2 separate regions of the Homo sapiens genome follow, and region 2 is linked to region 1. The links are contacts of gene promoters, found by promoter capture Hi-C in blood cells and fetal thymus (Javierre and others, 2016). All regions are on one chromosome and are shown on one strand. The core of a region is centred on a gene start or on the middle of the fragment in contact, and the rest is flanking DNA. Distances in the headings are between cores, read along the strand shown.

Evidence for each region. The method cuts DNA at HindIII sites, captures the fragments that hold promoters and counts their contacts. A CHiCAGO score of 5 or more calls a contact.
Region 2: a fragment that was not itself captured here is called in contact with the fragment with the promoter of TCAF1 in region 1 in 2 of 17 cell types (naive CD4 T cells and total CD4 T cells); the score reaches 7.0 in naive CD4 T cells.

What each region holds. Positions count from the first base shown.
Region 1 is chr7:143,896,978-143,904,856 of GRCh38, reverse strand. TCAF1 (TRPM8 channel associated factor 1) reads left to right here and starts at 2,681. Exons shown (of 9, transcript NM_014719.3): 1 at 2,681-2,896. LOC105375549 (a long non-coding RNA gene) reads right to left here. Exons shown (of 3, transcript XR_007060574.1): 3 at 2,904-7,645. RefSeq lists a silencer at 2,521-2,660 and enhancers at 3,451-3,500, 3,176-3,713. The HindIII fragment of the contact is 7,751 bases long and covers 153-7,879 here.
Region 2 is chr7:144,124,298-144,132,176 of GRCh38, reverse strand. OR2A14 (olfactory receptor family 2 subfamily A member 14) reads right to left here. Exons shown (of 2, transcript NM_001001659.3): 2 at 989-3,098. The coding sequence starts at 3,064. The coding sequence ends at 2,132. Among named protein-coding and RNA genes, the nearest start is that of OR2A14, 5.1 kb to the right of the region's middle. The HindIII fragment of the contact is 1,344 bases long and covers 3,659-5,002 here.

The DNA.
Region 1 (7,879 bases), core at 1,432-3,931:
CAGTGTTCCTTTTTGTATTAATATAAAGGAGGAGAGTGGATGAGATGTTGTAGCTCTGAAATTCTATGACCAATTGCACAGCAAAAACAACAGCAACTAAAAATGGTGGGTTTTGCTTGTGTGCCTGGAGAGGGAGTGGGGGTGGGCAAGCTTATGTCCTGTTGACTGTCAGCTTCTGAGGGGAGAAGGGATCTGGCAAGAGAGAAGTGCAGCTGTCTTGGCAGAGAGAATGAGAAATGAGAGAATGAGAAAGAGAGGTAACTGCAAGCAATCCTGGTCTTTCAGACACACTCAGTCTACAATCCCCAAACACCCACCTGCCCCCACAGTTTCCCCCCAGACACCCCATTTAACCGCACAAACACATCCAGACGCTGGTTTTTCCTTTCACCATAGTAGTCATAAACTATGCCTCTGTGCTAGTAGCTGGGTGCATTCACTTCTAGAAATCTCTTAGAAGTAAAGTCCCATCCATGTCTGCCCTCCAATCTCAGGCTAGGCCTATGTAGTTTTGAGGGGAGACTAGATTTGCAGGGAAATGAGGAGAGAACACACAACTTGGAGATTTGAAGAGCAAAGGAGACAAGGGCCAAGGAAATCATGGAAGAAGTCTGGAAGGATCTGTCCATTCTCTGGTAATGGTGAACATTCACATAGGGTTTTCCATGTGCCAGACACTGCTTTAAGAGCTTTATCTGTATTAAGTCATTTAATCTTCATAAAAATTCCATGAAGTAGAGACAATTATTATCCCCAATGTTACAGATGAAAACACTAAGATAGAAGTTAACAAGCCCTCTGTGATAGGCAGAAAAATAGCTCCCTAAAGATGTTGATATGGTTTGGCTATGTGCCCCCACCCAAATCTCATCTTGCAGCTCCCATAATTCCCACGTGTTATGGGAGGGATCTGGTGGGAGATGATTGAATCATGGGGGTGGGTCTTTCCCCAACCGTTCTCATGATAGTGGAGAGGTCGCAGGAGATCCGATGGTTTTAAAAACGGCAGTTTCCCTGAACAAGCTGTCTCTTTGCCTGCCGCCATCCACATAAGATGTGACTTGCTTCTCCTTGCCTTCTGCCATGATTGTGAGGCCTCCCCAACCACGTGAAACTGTGAGTCCAATTAAACCTCTTTCTTTTGTAAATTGCCCAGTCTGGGGAATGTCTTTATCTGCAGTGTGAAAATGGATTAATACAGATGTCCAGATCCTAATTCCCAGAATTTGTGATACGCAATGCTACATGGCAAGGGAGAATTAAGGTTGCAGACAGAATGAAGGCTGCTAATTAGCTGACCTTGAGATGGGAAATTATCTAGATTATCTGGATAGGCACAATGTAATCACAAGGTCCTTCTAAGTGAAAGAAGGAAGCAGGAGACTCAAAGAAGGAGATGTGACACAGAAGCAGAGGCTGGAGCCATGAGATTGCTGACTTTGAAGATGAAGGAAAGGGCTGCAAGCCAGGGAATGCGGGAGCCTCTGGAAGCTGGAAAAAGCAAGGAAAATAGATTTGTCCCTAGATCCTGCAAAGAGAAACACATCCCTGCCTACACCTGGATGATAGCCCAGTGAGACCTGTGCTGGACTTCCAGGACCTACAGTCCTGGAAGATAGTAGTAAATCTGTGTTGTTTTAAGCCACTAAATGTGTGAAAATTTATCACAGCAGCCTTAGCAATGAATACACTGCCCAACTTGTAAGCAGAGGATGTGGTGGCTTCAAAGTCCAGGCTTTTTCCCTGCTACTCCTTTCTTTCTTTCCTCCCTCATGCCCAATATCTGTCATCTGTTGATTGGTTAGTAACATTCTCAACGCCTTACTGTTTTATTAAACTTATAAAAACAATGTATTGGTTTAAAAAAAAACAATTCAGTGGTTGTGAAGGTAAGAATCAATAGACAATTTCTCCACCGTTAGCCCCGCCTCTTATAGAAGCACATGCAGCATGTCTTCTTCATACACGAATGTAATGCTAAAGCTGATGCAGTGGCTCAGGCCTGTGATCCCAGCACTTTGGGAGGCCGAGGCGGGAGGATCACTTGAGCCCTGGCGTTCGAGACCAGCCTGGGCAACAAAGTAAAACCCTGTCTCTAACAAAAAATCAAAAAGTTAGCTGGGCGTGGTGGCGGCGCACTTGTGGTCCCAGCCTCTGAGGTGGAAGGATCGCTTGAGCCTGGGAGGTTGAAGCTGCAGTGAGCTGTGATGGCACCACTGCACTCCAGCCTGGGTGGCAGAAGCAGACCCTCCCCCTGGAGGGGAGGGGAGGGGAGGGGAGGGGAGGGGAGGGGAGGGGAGGGGGAAAGAGAGATCCTACTCTCCATTTTAATACAACTTGCTTTTTTAATTAAAAACTATAGCTAGAACCGATAGATTTCACTCGTCCTTAAAAATAGTCCTGTATTATTTTATATAAACATCTCTCGCTATTTATCAAGGCCGTCACTTGTTCAGAAGTATTCTCACTTTTGTTTTGTTTTGTTTTGTTCTTAACAATTTGCTCCCTATATTCCTGGGCTGGCGCCTAGGCCTGCATCCGGGATTTGGCGCCACATCTGCGGGCAGGGCCTCTGAGGTCTAGGGGAGGGACGGCGCCGGCCAAGTCCCGCCCCCGTCCGCGTCGACCAATCAGCTCCCTGGAAGGCCCCTCCTCACCACCCCCCACCCCCGCAGTCTCCGCCTAAGACTTTCCAAGTCCTGTAGTTTCGAGCCCGCTGCCCTTTGCCTCCTGGGCGGAGAAGCTGCTTCCTCCTGGGAACAACCGCCTCCCGCTCCTAGCAGGTTGCTACTGCCCCGAACCCGCGCTGCAGGGAACAGCGGGGCAAACAGTGAGTGGGGTTCAGCGTAGACTCTGGACCAGGAGAGGCCCGCGGTGACCGAGGCCTGGGCCCCGGGTTAGTGTCCGGGGCGGGGAGCGGTGGGCGGGGTGCGACGTTTAGCGTCTGGGGAGGGCCGGGCGTGGATTGCGGCCTCTGCGCGCGCCCCCAGGTGATAGAGCCGTTCCACCGAGGATCCCTTCCTTCGTCTCTACCCCGTTGATGATTTTTCTCTGCAGCTCGGTGCCTATTTCATTCTCGCCGCATTGTTATGCCCTCTGCTGGGCAGGAGGCGATGACCCCCCCTATTTTCGTAGGATTTGTTTTTTGCTCCGCAAGGAGCCATTAAGATCTGAGCTAGCAGGAACCCTCGAGGCGATTTGATCTCGCCAGCTGGGGGCTTGCATTCTTCTAGGCTAGCTTGTCTCCGTTAAGCCCAGGTGGAAGTTCTCATCCACCCCAGTGCTCTAGGCGCCCACGGGCGCAGTGTGGGTTTGTGGTGGGGGAAGGGACCTGGGGAGGGGTGGCGGTGAGAGCGGCGCGGGGATTCAGGCTGAATGTTAGTCTGGAATGCATTTGGCCTGAAGCAGCAAGTGCTGGGTGATACAGTTCCCTGGTAAACAGCCGAGAGCTGGCCGCTAGTTTGGCCCAACCTGCAACGGAAGAAGGCCTTAAGTACAGGAGAAAAAGATCTTTGCCAATTGGATAATCATGGAAATTTAGAAGAAGTACAGCTCGAACTAGACGTAAAGGACAGAATGTGTCTGTCTAGCTGACCAGCCAACCATCGGTCCATCACTTTCATCCTCCAAACTAGTGATTTGTTGATGAATTGGTTTCAATACTTTGTTTTAAAATGTTGAATAAAAAGTAAATGAAATATCTCAGAATGGTCTAAAAAATAATGAAACGAATGCCTGACCATCTCCTTGGGTCAAGAAATAGGGCGTCACAGTACCTTAGAAGCCCATGAGTCCCAACTGATGCCCATGGTCCATTCTCCTCCATTCTCTGAGATGTGACATCTTTCGTGATTTTTGTCTTAATTTAATGAATCCCTTGCTTTTCTTTTTAGTTTTACCATATTTGTGTGTGTATTCCTAAAACATATGTATTGGCTTTCTCATTATAATGACATTATATTAATGACATTATCCTGTACGTATTCTTAAGTTTTATAGATTCATCTTTCATGCTTCCTTCCATTTTCGTTTTCGTCATTTAAGGTGTAAATGTACATAATTTATCCATTCTACTGCTGATGGACATTGGATTGTTTCTACTTTTGGAGGTGTATGATTTATCTATAAGCTATGTAACAAATTACCCCAACACCTAGCAGCTTCAAACCAAAGCGAACAAACAAAACAAGTCCTGTTACCTCCTATCTTACAGTTTCTGTGATCAGGAATCCAGGAGGGGCTTAGCTGGGAGTCTCTGACTCAGGGTCTCTCACAAGCTGTATCAACAATCAAGGTATTGACTGGGCCTCAGTCATCTCAAGGCTAGGCGTAGGGTCGAGGACCTCTCCCAGGCTTACTCACATGACTGCTGGCAGGCCGATTGGCCTCACTGACCCTGGCTGTACACATCAGTTCTTTGCCACATGGGCCTCTGTATAAAGAATGGTTGCAACATGGCAGCTTACTCCCCCCAGAGAGAAGGCTCCCACAGAGAAAAAGAGAAAGACAGAAGTCAGATTCTTTCTGTAACCTCAGAAGCGACATCCCATTATTTTTGCCATTTTATATTCATTAGAAGTGAGTCCCTAGGCCCAACTCACACTGAAGGGAAGGGGGTGACACAAGGACATGAACACCTGGAGGCAGGGATTATCGGGGCCACTTTAAAGCCTGCCCATGTCCTCTAATATTCAAGTACACTTGTGTGGGAGCTTCCCTAGAGTATATAGCTGGGAGTAGAATTGCGGAGTTATAAGATTTATGTGTATTCAATTTTATTGGGTCATTTCTAAACTTTCCAAAGTGTTAAACCAGTTTGCACTCCCTCCAGCAGTGGATGAGCATTCTTGTTGCTCTACATGCTTGCCACAGCTTAGTCTTGTAAAATTACATTTTTTGTCAGTCTGGCAGGTATGAAATAGCATTTAACTGTGATTTTAACTAGCATTTTCCATAACTAATGAGATTGACTTTTTATATGTTGATCAGTGCTTTCTCTTTGTGAAATTCTGATTCCTGTCTCTTTCATTTTTGTATTGGATTGTTTGTTTACCTTTTTTATTGACTCATTGGAATGCTTTCTTTATATAATCTGGGTACGAAGCAGTAATTGTTAGCTATATATGCCACAGACATCTTTCCAATTTGCTTTTGAGGTTTTCTTTCTCTCTATGTCTTTATATCTGTTTCTTTCTCTGTTTCTATCAATGAATCTAAGTTTTGAATTTAATTTCAAGTTAGTAGTACTTTCTTTTATAGCTTTTCTTGTTTGATAATTGTTTTCTCAAGATCATAGATTAATTTTAGTGTATCGTTTTCTAAAAGTGTTATAGTTTTGCCTTTGGCAATTAGTCTTAATCCACATGGAAACTGATTTTTATGTTGTTTATTCCATATGGATAATCTGTTGCCCCAGCACCAGTGATTTGCATGAATCAGGATTTCCATATAAGCATGAATTCGTTTTAAGCCCCCATTCTTATTTTCTATTTGTCTAACTCTGCCTCAATACTAAATAATTTTTAACCACTATAGTTTTATTAAAAGCCTTGAAATTTGGTAGGAAAAGTCCTATCACCTGTTTCTTCTTCTTTAAGAGTGTTTTAGCTTTACTTGGACCTTTGACCTTCCATATAAATATTTAAATAAACTTATCAAGTTCTCCAAAACAAGAAACAAACAAGCAAATAAACCTGTTGGAATTCTGATTGATAATGGATCAACTCTGTGTCTTAGTCTGTTTTGTGCTACCATAGCAGAATACCTGAGACTGAGTAATGTATAAGGAACAAAAATTTATCAGCTCACAGTTCTGGAGGCTGGGAAGTCCAAGATTGAGTGGCTGGCATCTGGCAAGAAAGAGCCTTCTTACTGTGTCATTCCATGGCATAAAGGCAGAGAAAGGCTGAAAGAGAGTGTAAAAGGAGGGTGAATGCCGCCTTTTATAATGAACTCACTCCTACAGTGATGGCATTAATTCATTCACTCTGCTGTCATGACCTGATGGCCTCTCATTAAGCCCACCTCTTAACACCATTGCATTGGGGATTAAGTTTCCAACACCTGCTTTTTGAGGGACACATTCAAACCATTGCACTCTATAAATTATTTTGGGCAGAAATTATTTCTAAGACATTGGCCCTTTTCCTCAATGAACATGGTATATGACACTATTTAAGTCATCTTCAATGTTTTGTACTATTTTTTATTGTTTTCTTTTGGCTCAGTTTTTGTTAAATTTCTAGGCACGTCATATTTTTACTGCTATTGTAAGCATTTTCTTTTGTAAAAGTTATATTTTGTAGTTTATTGTTGCTGGCATACAGAAATTCAGTTGCCTTTTATATATTAATTATATATCAATCAAACTTGAGAAAATTAATAATTCTAAATTTACCTGTAGCTTCTTTCAGATTTGCTACATAGGCAATCATATCATCCGAAAATAATGATAATTTTGTTTATTCGTTTCTAATTCTCATACCTTCAATTTATTTTTTCTGTCTTATGACAATGACTAGGAGCTCCAGTACACTGTTGAATAAAAGTAATAAAGGGCATCTTGTTTTGTCCTTAAGATAATAATGAGAAATATTTCATTATGTCAACTTAAAAATGACATTTGCTATAGTTACTTTGTAAATGTCTTCCCCATCATAAGAAAATTCTGTTCTTCTTTTGGTAAGCACTTTTATTATAAATGGATGTTTTTTCAAATGCTTTTCCTGTAGCTGTTGAGAATATATATACTTTTTTTCCTTTAACTATATTAACAACATAGTAAAGTATAGTATTTAATTTCTGATATTAAACCAATTTTGTATTCTTGGAATAAACCTTTTGTGGTAAATATGTAGTAATTTCTGTATGTGGATATAGATACAAAAGGTAAACATTGGATATTTATATTTATACGTGTGATTTAAGATTGGCATGTAATTATACTTTTCTGTACTATCCTTTTCTGATGCTGGTATTATCATAAAATAATATGAATAGTATTCTCCCTTATGCTATTCTTTGGAAGAATTTGTGCAAGATTGGGATTATCTGGTCCTTGAATATTTCCTTGAATCACCTGTAAAATCATCTGTGTTTGGAGTGTATTTTTTCAGAAGATTTTAATGATTATAGTACTATTTAGGTTTTCCTATGGAGTCAGTTGTAGTAAATTGTATTTTCCAAGATATTTAACAATTTCACATATACATGAATGTATCAGTATACGTACATGTATATGTTTATTCAATATATATAAATACATTTGACCATTGAACAATGGAGCAGTCGGGATACTGACCCCCCTCAGAATTGAAAATTTGTATATAACATTTGAGTCCTACAAAACTCAATACTAATAGCCTACTAATGAGTGGAAGTCTTACCAGTAACATAAGCAGTTGATTAACACATGTTTTATATATGCATTATATTCTTAACTAGAGAAAAAGAAAATGTTATTAAGAAAGTCATAAGGAAGAGAAAACATATTTACCATTCATTAAGTAAAAGTGAATCATCATGAAGGTCTTCCTTGTCATCTTCACATTGAGTAGGCTAAGGATGAGGAGGAAGGGAGGAGTTGGTGTTGCTGTCTTTGGGGGTGGCAGAGACAGAAGAAAATCCAGACCAACGCGGTTCAAACCTGGATTATTCAAGGATGAAGTGTTTATATATGAATATATATATATATATATATATATATATATATATATATATATATATTCAAGATTAACAAAATAAAACTGTTTATAAAATCCTCTCATTCTGTTTATAAATCTTTCCATTATCTATTGATATGGCCACTTTTTCATTGTTAATATGTGTACATTTTCTCTTTTTGTTTTAATTTTTCCAGAACATGGTCTACATTATTAGT
Region 2 (7,879 bases), core at 3,081-5,580, 230 kb before region 1:
GAGAGGAAAATCGTATGCTATTGTGCGAGGGCTAGAAATGGGCAGGTTGATTTTAAAATTGGCTGAGGAGCACCAAGAAAAAAAAATGGAAACAATAATACATTAGTATACAACACTTTACATTTCAGGAATAAAAAGGAAGCAAGATAGGTTAATACTTTCTGAGATTAGTGAAAGTAAGATAACTTGTGCTCTGAATATCAGAGTAGTGTTCAGCTTTAGAAATCCCTGCCGTATCAGTCTAGTGATTCCCTTCTTTACATAGTAAAGATTTCTACAGCATAAGATCTCCAGGCCGGGCTCAGTGGCTCACGCTTGTAATCCTAGCACTTTGGGAGGCTGGGGCGGGCAGATCATGAGGTCGGGAGATGGAGACCATCTCGGCCAACATGGTGAAACCCCGTCTCTAGTAAAAATACAAAAATTAGCTGGGTGTGGTGGTGGGCACCTGTAATCCCAGCTATTCGGGAGGCTGAGGCAGGAGAATCACTTGAACCTGGGAGGCAGAGGTTGCAGTGAGCCAAGATCGTGCCACTGCACTCCAGCCTGGTGACAGAGCAAGACTCCATCCTAAAAAGAACTCTAACATATCCTGAGGTTTTGATATTAGTAATTTTTCCTTCTATGTTCTCTTCCAGGCAAAATTATTATCAGCTATCAGCTTAGGGTTAAGAGTTACATTTCTGGGTATTCCAGGCTAAGATGAGAGTGGCTCTCTCAAAATATAATTAAAACTAGGACTTTTTCAATATCAAGATATAAGATGCTTTTAATAAAATGGTTGCTAAATATAAAAGAAAACAATTAAAAATCTACGATCTTGTTAAATCCACTCTTAAAAATTAATCTGTACAAGATATCTCTGTGCTTGTTTTCACTGGACTGCTGTGCTCCAATTAGAATGTTGAGTTGCAAACTTTTATCCTAAGATCTCAGGCTCAAATTAGTGATGGAGTATGAGGAGCCTGCTCTTAATTCCTGTGTGATGGAGAAACCATGAATATTTACAGTCCACTGGCTATTGAGTCATGGCATATTTTAGAAAGTGTCAAAGGAGGAAAAGTCTCACTCTCAAGTAAGTACAATGTGATCACAGGAATTTGACTGCAAGACATGTCTAATCACATGCTCCCTGAGGCCCCACCCAGTGAGGGTCTCTAAAGTGGGATCAGCTGGAACTATGCTAGTTTTAAGATCTAGAACAAGGGTTCACAAACTACTGTCCCTGGGCACCATTCCAGCAGCCACCTGTTTTTACAAATAAAGTTTTATTGGAACACGGGCACACCCATTTGTTTACACATTGTCTATGGCTGCTTTTGTCAGAGTTGAGTTGTTTTGACGCAGAAGATGGCCCTCAAAGCCTTAAGCATTAACCTGTGTATCTTCACAGGAAGTGTCACTAATTATTGATCTTGAGGATGTGTACTATGCTCCTGTTAACTCAATGTGACTTGGCTACTATTGGCACAAACTCTGCTAGTATCGACCATTTCCAATATTAGAAATAGATTTCCAATAACCTCAATGATAAATAAGCCATTAAAAATTTCAGACATCTTAGTGGGTATATAATAGTATCTCATGGTGGTTTTAATTTACAATTCCTTGCTTACTAATGGTGGAAAGCAGCATTTGTATGTTTATCAGCCCCTTGTATTTTCTGTAAGAGTATATGTTCACATGTTTTGCTAATTTTATAAAATTTGGTTGTTTATATTTTTTATTGCTGATTTAAAGGAGTTCTTTCTATGTACTGTATGAACAATAGTTCCATTTCTGGGTACATGTAGTTTCCATACGATCACTTGGTTTGTGGCTTGCATTTCTTCTTTCTTAATGGTGACTTTGATGAGCACAATGATTAATGTGAAGAGGTCCTATATTTATCGAACTTAAAAATTTTATATCTAGGGACTTTTGTGTCTTCTTTATGAATTTATGCCTATCCAGTATTATAAATGCATTTACCTATCTTTTCTAAAAGATTTGTGTCTTCAGTTTATATGTATAGGTCTATAGTATTCCAGTTTAAGGTAGCATTTATTCTAGCAGAAGACAAAAAAAAAAAGCCAACTTCTATATTTTGCAGGGAGCAAGGCTCCCTCCCCATGGTTCCCTTTGAGATGTCTCACGTCAGCCTCTCCTTCCTCAGTGCCCTCCTCAGGGCGCCCTTGACCTCTGCATTCCTTAGGCTATATATCAGGGGGTTCAGCATTGGATTGAAAAGGCTGTAAAACAGGGAAAGAACTTTCTGCTGCTCCTCAGGATGGCGGGACTTGGGGGCCATGTACGTGACAATGGCGCTGCCAAAGAAGAGTCCCACCACGCAAAGGTGGGAGGAGCAGGTGGAGAAGGCCTTTCTGCGGCCCTCCCCAGACTGGATCCTCAAGATGGCGGCCAGGATGCGCAAGTAGGAGACCAGCACCAGGCAGAGTGGCCCCACCAGGATGAACACGCAGGCTGCAAAGATGACCACCTGGTTGAGCCAGGTGTCAGCACAGGCCAACTTGAGGACAGACAGGATTTCACAGAAGAAGTGGTTGATTTCATGAGGCCCGCAGAAGGGCAGGCTCAGGATGAGAACTAAAGGGACCAGAGCCAGGAGGAAGCTGAACACCCAGGAAGCCACAGCCAGGACAGTGCACACTCTCCAGCTCATGAGGCTATTGTAACGTAAGGGGTGGCAGATGTCCGCATAGCGATCATAGGACATCACCACCAAAATCAGACACTCTACGTGAGCAAAAGCCAAATACAAGAATGTCTGCATTATGCATGGAAAAAAGGAGATGGTGCTTTCCTGGTTCATAAGATTCGTCAGCATCTTGGGGACATAGTTGGAAGCATAGGATATGTCAACAATGGCCAGGTGTGAGAGGAAGAAGTACATGGGTGTGTGAAGCTTACAGTCCAGGCAGATAATCCCAAAGATGACCCCATTCCCCAGCAGGGTGAGTGTATAGAAGGCAGAGAAAAGTCCACAGAGGAGAATCTCCAGTGCTGGACCAACCTGGAATCGCGGCAAGGTGATGTCTGTGATCCATGTCTTGTTGCCTTCCATGCTCTTGTGGACATCTAGGACAGGAAGGTCAGAGCTGTGGGCCAGTCAAAGATGCACAGAGGGAGCACTTAGAAATTATAACTTTGAATGAATTTTCTAGAATTTATTCTCAGATATGTTGCCAAAACTAACCAAGTGTGCTCATAAAAATGAGAAAAAATCGCATTGTATCAATGGAATAATAAGAATACATACATGTATATGTGTATATATATTTGTGTGTGTATGTGTACATGTATATAACATTTAATAAAATATAACAAAACAGGATCTATTATAATATACCCTACATAAGGGGATACACACGCACATGTGTTATTTTGAAGAACTCAAGTATCCTTGCTTCCCTTTCAGTGTGAAATCTTGATTTTTACGTAGTTTGAGAAGAGAGGACCTTGACAAATGTTGCATTATGAGGTGGTTTCACTTGCTCATCCTGCTTCCTTCTCAGTCTGAGATGTGCAGGGACGGGGACCCTCTGTTTGCCATGGGCTTGCTCACTGTCCCTCACCTCCTCACAGGCTTTTCTACCCACTTATTTCAGATTTGAAATCACTTTTAAATAGCTTTCAATTTTGTAGTTTCTTTAAAGCTTTCTGAGATAAGACGCTCCTTTTCAGAAGCTGGCCAGTACTCCCTAGCAGCAACTTTAGGTGCCTCTTTTCCATATCTGGTGTTTGTAGTTTTATTTTGAGAGTTTTCCTTACTTCTTCATCAGCATCTGTTATTGTAAATTAGGCATGAGTGAAATAATTCTTGGCTACATACAATGAATACATGTATATATCTTTAAAATAACTAAGCATGGTGACATTTCTGAGGTCTTTTAAATAAGAAATTCAAAAGAAAAACCAATTTACATTAAGTGGTTACATTTAAAGATGATCGCTGTATCGTAATTGTATTTTATTGGACTCTTTTCTCGATTATAACTTAATATGTTGACATCTCTCAGAGCTTATCTTACTTTCCAGTGTGACAGAGTCTTTTGTCATCAATATATTCCCAGCTATGGCAACTGGGGTTGCTGTCGGTTCCCCTAACTGTATTCTTCTCCATCACCTGTGATCATGCCAGCAGCCCTGTTGCTGTTCAGATGGAATCTGAGCATGTGATGGGGATGGGATCAGGTGCAGCCCCAGCTGGTGAGCTCTTTCTAAGGAGCTCTTCCTGGAGGGTCTGGGTCTATCCAGCCAGCAGGGGGCGACCAAGGGCCATGAACAGGACGGATGGCCTCATCAGGTGGAGAAACCATGTGACCTGGTGCTGTTCTGTTAACACTTCACATTTATTCCAGAAACAGCCTGAGGACTATCTTTATTTTCAAATCAGGCTAAAGGTTCAAATCCAACAGGATACTTTTAAAAAAACAATTTTGATGTCTTTTATTTTAGTAAATACGTAGATCCTCAAATTTATATATTAAAATAGGGTATTGTACAGAGTATTTAAACATTACAATTTTTCACTTAATATAATACTTTTCCTGTATCGAAATTATATTTTATGGACATTATTTTAAAGGGGCACAATATTCTGTCACAATTTACTGAATTTCTTACTGTTTGAATTTTTGTTTATTTCTTATTTTTATTGGCATTGAGATACATTTCTCTTAAACTTAAGATTTGCCTATATTCATAATTATTTATTAGAACATATTCTAAAAGTGAAATTGCAGATGCTAAATATACAGACATTTCTAAGGTTTTTATCCCTATTTTAACTTCCATCTAGAAAATCTGACCAATTGCAATTCCCTCCCACAGTGTGTAAGAATCATGTCTCTTTGCCACATAGTCAGTACTAGGCATTACCAATTACAATCTCTGTTACTTTCATAAGCAAACAATGTTCTGTAACTTATATTTGTATTTTGTATATCCCTTAACGAATGATCCTTGAGTGCATGATCTGTTTCAGCCACTGTTCTAAGCTTTAGAGGCCCAGCTGTGGATGATGTAAACACATTCTGAAAGGGAGGCAGATTATAAAGAAGTAATATTAAGGTGATGTGCTTCTCTTCCACACCTCACATTTCTATTTAGGGAAGGAAACCTCTATGCCCCTGGATAAAATTGTTTTAGAGTATACCTGCCTCTCTCTTTCCCCTAATTTATATGATTTGTGAAACAGGAAAGAGAAACTGAGGGTGACCTTTCTCTGTTCTCTGTTTCACCTGCATGCATTTCTATCTGCTTGGGATTAAGGTATCAGGAGCATGTTCAGTCCCATTTGGAGGTGGGGAAGGGGTGTCAGCTAATGGTTGTGATTTTAATTTGGAGAGAAACTTTGTTGAAAATATAAACCATGCTTTTCAACAGACTTTATTAATAAAATACCTTTTTGAATTATATCCGATTCTTTCATGTATTATTCAACTCATTTTTTCCAGACTTGGAACAGAGAGAGGGCATGATTCATTACCACTGTAAAAGACCAGGAGTAAACAAGTAAAGATAATTGCTGGCCATGAAAAGAACAATGAAGGAAATAATCTAGGTAAAATAATAGAAAGCTACTTGATTTGAGGGGGGTCTCCTTTAGATGGGATGGTTGGAAAAGGTCTCTCTTAAGAGGAGACAGGTGAGTGGAACCTAAACCATGAAGGCCACAACCCTGCCCAGAGCCAAAAGAGGATCATTCTCTACACAGAGAACAGTAATGGAACAGTAAACGCAAAGTCTCTGAACAAGATGCACTTGGTGAGTTCTGGGAAGAGAAAGAAAGAAACACAATGTACCTGAACCATAGTGAGCAGGAGATTGTACTTATTCTTTGTAACCTTGTTTATATTTTTAACAATCTGAAATTGACATAAAAAATTCATCAGTTTAGCTGATATACTTTTGACTTTATAATAATTGATTTACTTTTAGATTCATGAAAGCAGAATACAGTTAAAAGATATGTATGTACAGAACTTCCAATGAGCACATATTTGAAATAGGAAACTGTTTAATTTTCTGCACAATATAATTTTAATGCCAGAATGGTAGTTGTCAATTTTTGGACACAGCAAATGTTGTGTTAATGTCCCAATGAATCAAGCTGAAAAGGAGAAGCCTTTTATCCCTGAGACCTCCAAGCACATGGATATTTTGCATATTTTTAGTCCCTCCTGGCTCCCATCTGTGGTGTACACATCTGTGCTCCTACTGTTCCAAGGCCCAGTGACCTAGGTAGCAGGCATTTGGATGCTTTAGGAGTAAAAAAAAAATCCAGTCATTACCAAATAAATACAATTGTTTGGTTAATCTAAATTCATAATTAAGCAAATCTGGGTTTATAGTTTTATTTGTAATTTTTGTAAAGTAAGGAATTTCGGGGAAAAAAACCCCAGCAGCCTAGAATAAACTATTTCTAAAGAGCAGGAATAAAGAAAGAAACAAATAGAATTCTTAGTGAAAGTGAAATTTAATCAGACGTGAACTACATCCAAACTGTATAAAACTCTGGTTATCAACTGTGCTTTTAACAGTTGTGTACAAGAGGCCACAAGGAGAAAAGTCTATAATGGTGGCTACCTACACACAAAAATTGTCCATCTGTTCAATTGTGAAGTTAAGTAAACAAATATACAGTATAAGAGGAAAATAGTTTTTTTCCTTTTATTTATTGGCATCCTTTTGTATTTTGGATTTCACAGTTCAAGTAGTCAGACTTTTCTTTTAGAAAAGCCTGTGGAAGTTCAATAAAGAATCAGATATCTGAAAGGAAGATTTATTTAGGCATCCACTCCAGTTACACATTACAGAACAATCTTCAGTGGATGGAGTAAGGGAAAAAACTGCATGGATACATTTTTCTGTTCTTAAAGAGCAAAGCAAATTTAGCAGTGACAGAAAAAAATATGGTCTCTGAATAAGAATGAAAGCAACAGGAGTAACAGTCTTGGCCAGAACACTATTCCAGTCTTGATTCTGAGCAATGAACATGACGCATTTGAGTCACGTATTCTAAGGCTCATTATTGTCAAATGTAAAATGTTGACCACAGATACCAAAAGGACTGATGTGAAGAAGAAATACCATCGCACTGGTACATTATAGGAATTTAATAAATGTCAGCTGTTACTAATGATATTAAAGAGATCGTAAAATTGAGGGAAGTATTAAAGCATAGGAATTGGAAATCCAGTGCAATCATCATGGTGTTGCAAACACTTTCACGTTTATCTTGCTTTTCTTTTTGGCTGTTTTTGAGTTTAAATATAAGACACACATTTTGCTTTGATTTCCTAATATAAATGTTCCTATATTTTGATTTTTAAAATTAAAAAGCAATTTAAAGAAATGGAAGACTCCTTTGAAGTAACCACACTCCCTTACTGAAGAAAAAAAAATACAGGCTGTAATAGTAAGAGGTCAATCCCACCATGCTAAATATCCCAATGATAGAGAGAGGATTAATTTTTTGGAAAGAAAAGGGGGGCGTATTTAGGGTGTTTAGCACTGACACAAAAGAAAAGTTTCTATTGAAAATTGTCTTAGAATGGGAGCCCTGGGGCCTCCAGCAGTGGGGTTGTAAGGCAGCACTGATTTGTCAAATCTTTGCAATTACTCAGAAATAACTTGCCATCTCCAATAATATACTTTGACACTGAGCTTAGTCCTAGGGAGCAGCCTAGTTTTTTTTTTTTTTTTTTTTGAGACGGAGTTTCGCTCTTGTTGCCCAGGCTGGAGTGCAATGGTGAGATCTCGGCTCACCGCAACCTCCGCCTCCCAGGTTCAAGCAATTCTCCTGCCTCAGCTCCCCAAGTAGCTGGGATTACAGGCATGCACCACCATGCCTGGCTAATTTTGTATTTTTATT